Linked DNA regions of Homo sapiens: region 2 is linked to region 1. Evidence: promoter capture Hi-C in human tissues and cell types (Jung and others, 2019). All regions are on one chromosome and are shown on one strand. Each heading gives the region's core, a stretch centred on a gene start or on the middle of the fragment in contact. The rest is flanking DNA. Distances are from core to core; before and after follow the strand shown.

What was found. The method cuts DNA at HindIII sites, captures the fragments that hold promoters and counts their contacts. A contact is called where the count stands out against the background at its distance.
Region 2: a contact is called between a fragment that was not itself captured here and the fragment with the promoter of CHRM1 in region 1, in 2 of the 25 tissues and cell types used here (spleen and thymus).

The regions. Positions count from the first base shown.
Region 1 is chr11:62,919,928-62,922,983 of GRCh38, forward strand. CHRM1 (cholinergic receptor muscarinic 1) reads right to left here and starts at 1,436. Exons shown (of 2, transcript NM_000738.3): 1 at 1,291-1,436. It overlaps LOC105369333 (a long non-coding RNA gene), which reads left to right and starts at 233. Exons shown (of 5, transcript XR_002957251.2): 1 at 233-514. RefSeq lists an enhancer at 1,760-2,294. The HindIII fragment of the contact is 6,896 bases long and covers 1-3,056 here.
Region 2 is chr11:62,991,694-62,994,749 of GRCh38, forward strand. It overlaps SLC22A8 (solute carrier family 22 member 8), which reads right to left. Exons shown (of 11, transcript NM_004254.4): 8 at 2,849-3,056; 9 at 2,077-2,185; 10 at 1,731-1,934; 11 at 1,131-1,643. The coding sequence ends at 1,544. Among named protein-coding and RNA genes, the nearest start is that of SLC22A6, 8.3 kb to the left of the region's middle. The HindIII fragment of the contact is 7,404 bases long and covers 1-3,056 here.

The DNA of each region.
Region 1 (3,056 bases), core at 186-2,685:
GGTTAGCCCCTTCTTGACACTTTGGACTCCCCATTACACTTCAGAATCCAGTTCTCAGAACTCCAACCGCCAGCTGTCAGCTGCGAGCCAAGACCCACATCTTCTGCAGCCCATTTCACTATCTCCTTCCCTTTCATATCTCAGCCGCGATAGCGACTGCAGCTTGCCTGGTGGCTGAGGTCAGAGGGCAGAGAACTCTCATCTGACAGCCCACTGAACAGCTGATTACCCTGAGAAAGGAGACTGTCTGGCTACTGGAGACTGCCTGACTCCTTCCAGCCAGTTGGGCAGGGGTCTTGGGTCAGTCTGGGTGGAGCTGCAGGTGTGTTTTGTGCAAAGATGTGAACCCCTCTCCATTGGCTCTGATAACCTCTAAGCTGCACATGTCTGGATGACCTAATGAGAGCTGACGACCCCCTCCCCAGCTGGCCTGCCCAGGAGCTGACAACTCTACAAGCATCAGAGTTCCTGGCCCCTAGCCCATCCCCATGTTGTGCAGTCTGCGGGCACTGGGGTGAGTACCTGGCGTGGGTGCCCATTGGTATCCATGCATTGCCTGGATATAGGACTGAGACCCACCCTGCGGGAGCCCAAGATACTAGAAACATAAGGAGGGTCCTCTGGGCCCCTGCGCACGTCAGGGCCACCTTCCCTGGCTAGTGTGGCCACCCACATGCCCATTTGTCCCCAAAGAGCCCTGGGGCTCTTTGCCTGGTCTCCTGCTGGCTTCTGGCCTGACACCCACCTTGGCTTCTAGCTTCTCTATCTGGCCAGCAGCCTGATTCAGTCCATCTTGGGGGAGCTGAGGTGGACGGGGGTGGTGGGTTTCAGGGTGCCCTGAGGGAGGACAGGAGGTTCTGGGACTGGCACCCCCATCAAGATGGGGGTCAACCTCCCACAGGATGCTGGTGGCAAGGGCTGCTTCCTGGCCCTTTGCCCTTCCCACTCTGCCCCTAGGGTGTTGGGGGTTCTGCTTGCTACCAGGCAGCCTAATCCCTTCTGGGCCTCAGGTCCAGTTTCCTGAGGGGGATCTCCATCTCCTCTGCCAGCAGAAGCCCAGAAAAACATCAGCTATATCCACTCAAAGCCAGGAGGCCGAGTGTTTGGAGCAGTCAGTGTTCAATGCTACAGAGCCCCCTTGCCCTCTAGACCCCTCCCTGGCCTCCTCCTATCTCTGTGAGTCCATCCCTATTTCCATCTCATCCTGATCCCTGCCCTCCCCCGCTCCCCAGGACCCTCCTACCCTCTACCTTAGTGCAGCCCCTCCCAAGCCCTCCCAAATGTACTCACCACGGGGCTGAAGAGGGGTCTGTAGGGTCCTCAGCCCCACTGCCTCCCTGGGGGCCTGCGGCGTCTCCAGGGACCCAAACACCTGGCTCCCAGGGGGAGCTGCGCCCTGTGCTGGCAGCGGGAGAGGCACAGCCAGTGATTGGCATGTCCCACCCCCTGGCACGCCAGCCTTAGCGGGGAGGGAGAAAGGGAAAGAGAGGGAGGGAGGAAAGGGAGAAAAGGAAGGGAGGGGAGCTGGAGGGAAGCCTCAGGCAGCGTCTGGGGTTGGACTAGGTTCTGGAGTGTGCCCCCCTCCTTCACCAGGGCACCCAATTTGAGCCCCAAGAGGGAGGAGAAAGGACATGAGGAAGGCGAGCCCAGGAAGGCTAAAAGTCCCGGACGGGAGAGAAGGCGGATACAGGGAGACAAACACCCACACCCACTGCACAGACCCGGCGGCACACACACCCTCACAAAGGCACACTGTTTCCTTGGGCTCCTCCCCCCACCCAACCTTAGAGCCCCCAGCCCCTGTGCACCATGCCCCAACACACATGCCCTGGTATTCACATGCCTGCTTCCCTCGCACACACGCCCTCCCCCCTGCACATGCCCACGCACCCACCCACCCAACTACACACCCTGCTCTTCCTCCCTGCTGTGAGAGAGCTAGATTCCTTCTGTTTGGAAATGACACATTGGGCCTCACGTGAGAGGCTCCAACTTGGAACAGACCCAGAGGGCTGGCGCACCCGCCCGGGGGCTGAGTGAACGTGCCCGCATGCTGGGCTGTGTGCGCTAGCATTGGGCTATGCATAGCCTGTTGTGAGGGTATATGGGTGTCTGCTTTTCGGGGATGAGTAGAGGGCCAGGTGCCTGCCCCATGTGCGGCTGAGTGCCTTGCATATGTGTGTCCCTGTGTACTCATGTCACCATGCAGCCTGTGTAAGTGCAGGTGTGACCCTATCAGTCTGGAGGCAGGACGCGTGTGCACACGTGTGTCTGTATCTGATGTGTGGCTGAGTGTTGCCCAACTGTGGAACTTGCTAATTCTGACAAGTGAGGCAGCCTCTACCTGCCTGCTCCACCCCAAGCTTCCACTTGGAAGACAGACAGGCAGACAGACAGCTCTCCTCCCAGCTTGTCAAGCTCTGTCTCCCCTGACTCCCACTCAGGGCTCACAGGTGTGTACCTGGGAGGAGATGAGCCCTCCTCCCAATCTCCCTCAGCCCTACTGGGTGAGGCCAGCATCCCTCCCTGCCAGGCTGGTCTGGACTTCTGTGTTGAGCTTCCTCAGAGATAGAACCCCTGGGGGGCCGTTTGCCCTAGAGATGTGGGTCCTGCACCGCCTCTGTTTGGCCCTAGAGACCTCCCCGGGAGCTGACTGGGGAGGAGAGTTGGAGGCTGCAGGGACTGCCTTCTGGGGCTGCTGTGTTCTTTGCCCACTGGGCTGTGTCGAAGTCTTGGGGTGAGAGGTGGGAAGGAATGGGAGCATCAATTATCCCCATTTTGTAGGTGAGAAATCTGAAGAGCAGAGGTATGATTAGCATGTGGTGGGCAGGTGTTTGGGCTCAGGTCACTTGGCTCTAAGCCCAGGGCTCTGGAGTCTGGGGCAGGGGTTTCCCCTACTCATTTCCCCACCAAGCGCCGCCCCCCGCCCCCACAACCCCGCCAATGCTGGTGCCTGAGGGTAACCTGGGGCTTTCTCACCCAGGAGCCCAGTTGGCCAATGGAGCCAAGTGGAGCTGAAACTGGAGTTCCTGGGGTTTGGTCAGCAGCTACTGGTG
Region 2 (3,056 bases), core at 296-2,795, 72 kb after region 1:
TGATAAATGAGATTTGGATCTGGAGTGCCCTGTGGTCTAGTTGGTCACCACCAGAGATGGCAGATTATGGAACTGTTCAGTTGGCAGATTCCGGGGATGCAGATCCTTAGAAAAGGGGTGGGGGCAGGATAGGCAAAGTGAACACTGCAGCATTTATAGGATACCGCAGAGGGGCCTGAGAAGGAGTAGCCAGTGTGTGGGGGGGAGCTGCAAACACGTGGCCTCTCAGAAACTAAGGAAGAAGAGAGTGACCAGTAGGACCAAATTTGCCAAAAGGCCAGTAAGAGGAGGGCTGAAGAGTGACTTATGGATCCAGCACAGGGAGGGGATGAGCGTCCTTGGTGAAAGCGGTTCCAGGGAGGGAAGGGGTAGGAGCCGGAGTGCAGTGGGGGAGATGTATGAGGCTAGAAGGTGGATACAGGGGAGGCAGACAGCTCCTTTATGAAGTCTGGCTTCGAAGGGGAGAAAGAGCCAGTGTGGCCCTTGGAAGGAGATACAACATCCTGGCATGTGTTTGTGTTGATTTTTGTTAAGTTGGGAGAAGCCTAAGCTTGTTTAACTGGTGATGGGCGGCAGCCAAGACAGAGGGAATGGGCAGAGACCCCAGAGGGAAAGGGATGGCTGCTGGTGGAGGGATTGGCTGTTCTGCTGTGGCTGGAGGGAACCGGGAACATGGCAGCAGATATTGACAGCGGTCAGCTACCATTGCAGTTTTCTGATATTGACAGCGGTCAGCTACCATTGCAGTTTTCTCAGTTAACACGAGAAAAACTATCTGCTGGGCATGGGGCTGAGACATAGATCAGAGATTTGGGGTGATCAGGGGAAAGAAATCAGGATTGGAGGGGCTCTGGCTTCTGTCTGCAGCCACTCTGGGCTTGGTCAGTCATCTGCTCATATGCATGCTGGGACGTGTAGACACACACATGTATTTTCATGCACAGGCGTGGTGTACACACCTCAGAGCACTCACATGTGCTTGCTCATGTTCACATCAGTCCAGCTTGCATGTACCTGTGGTGCCTGTACACAGGCCTGTCGTACATGAAGTGTGGATGGACAGATGTGCATGCTCACGTGTCCACACGGTGGCCAGCTCCCATCCCACCCCCATTCCTGAACATCATGGCTAGAGTTCTTATCGCTGTTTATTGAAACCTCCCATCAAAGAAAAGTGTGGGAGGCAAGAAGGGGAGGACTTCTCATCTTGTTAAGACTCAGTCTTGTTAGGACTGAGCCAGGGGATATCAGGGGACCTCAGGGGAAGAGGACCGGGACAGTGGGGGAAGGTGGCCAGTGGGGAAGGGCTAGACAGAAGAATGGCAGGGCCTGGGTTGCAGGGAGAACAAGGGCAGGGATGGCTGAACCTTTGAACTGGCCAGGGCTGGGCAGGAGGCTCTGGTGGTGGTGATGGAGACACCTTCACCAAGCTCTCAGAAGGCTTCATCCTAGGAGGATGGACCTATATGGGGCCTCCCTATACTCCTAAGGTGCCTGGCTAGGATCAGTCTCTGGAGGGCAGGGAAAGGGGGTTCCGTTGTCCTCAGCTGGAGCCCAGGCCTGGTCCGTGAGGCTGTAGAGGGATCCTCTGGGAGGCCTTTTCCACCTCTGGCTCCTGCTTTGGCTTCTTTGCCCGCAGGGACCTAGGGACAGAGAGCTAAGGAAAAGCCCTGGGCCCAGACCTGCTTCCCCAGGGAGGAGCACTGATGGGGCCAGAGGCAGTGACTGACCAGTTTTCCAGGTCTTCGATAGTCTCTGGCAAGGGCTGATTCAGGGTCTCAGGCAGGAAGAGGGCAGCACTGCCCCCGAGGAGGGCGGTGATCCCGTAGATGATATTGGGGATGAAGGGCTGTACCTCACCCGTGATTTTCACCAGCGGGGACACCATGCTTCCCACGCGGGTCCACAGGTTACTTACGCCCATACCTGTTTGCCTGCGAGGGTTCAGAGTAGGGATTGGTAGCCTGTGTGTGGGGTTCATAAAGGATGGCTCCCCTGGGTAGAGGACAGGACAATGCCACAGTCCCACCTGACCTGTGTCCTCTGGCTGGGCCTGGCCCCAGGTCCAGCACCTACCTGATGACTGTGGGGTATAATTCACTTGTGTAGAGGAAGAGGCAGCTGAAGGAGCTGGATAGGCATCCCTTCCCAAACACAGCCAATACTGTCCTCACGGTCTGCAAGTCTGCAGAGGGAAGAAAATGTGGTGGGCCTTGGAGTTCAGGAGCACCTAAGAGTTCTCACTCCTTAGCTGATCTTGTCTCCCTTTTTGCTTTGGCTTCCAAGAAGCTCAGATCCAAACTTAAAGCTGAGTAATGCTTTGCATGCCTGTGTCCTGCTATGTTTGTGTTTTCCCCTGCCTCTGATCCTCTATTTCCATTTATATTTTGTTGTATATGTTCTTGTTCTTGTCTTAAAATACCTCAAGTTCTTTTGGAAGGGTATAGGTGTTATCAACCAACTAACACCCATATAAAATAAACGTAGCTTTTCCAAGGTCATGATGGAGTAGGTTGTGGGGTCTTTCTTGAGCATGAGCTCTGTCGTTTTACCATCTCAGCTTATCTCTACAGTGATGTCACTCAGGACACTCTCAATACCTCAAAAATTTTCACACTATCCAGATACCACCATACTTTTTGCCCAGTCCAAGTCAGATCTGGAAAGGAGCTTTCATGTCATCTAGCCCAATTGCGTTATTTTCTAGAAGAGAGACCCTGAGCCCCAGAGAGTGCAGGGACCTGCTCAAGGTAACACAGTGACTTAGAGGCAGAGCCAGCAGTGAAGTCCCTGGCACCCAACCTGGCAGCCTCTTCCAGAGGGTTCTGGGGTAGCCCCAGTCTCTCACCCAAGGGCACAAAGGTGAGAGCCAAGATGGCCCCTCCTGCCAGGAGCAGGGCAGCGGCCTGAGTGGTATGCCGGCCCAGGTAGCTTAAGGAGAGGATGGTGATGAACTTGGCTGGGACATCGACCCCACCAAAGATGATCTGGAGGATGTAGAGGTTGACTCCAAATTCTTCCACACCCATAGCCAAACTATAGTAGGCAAAACCGGT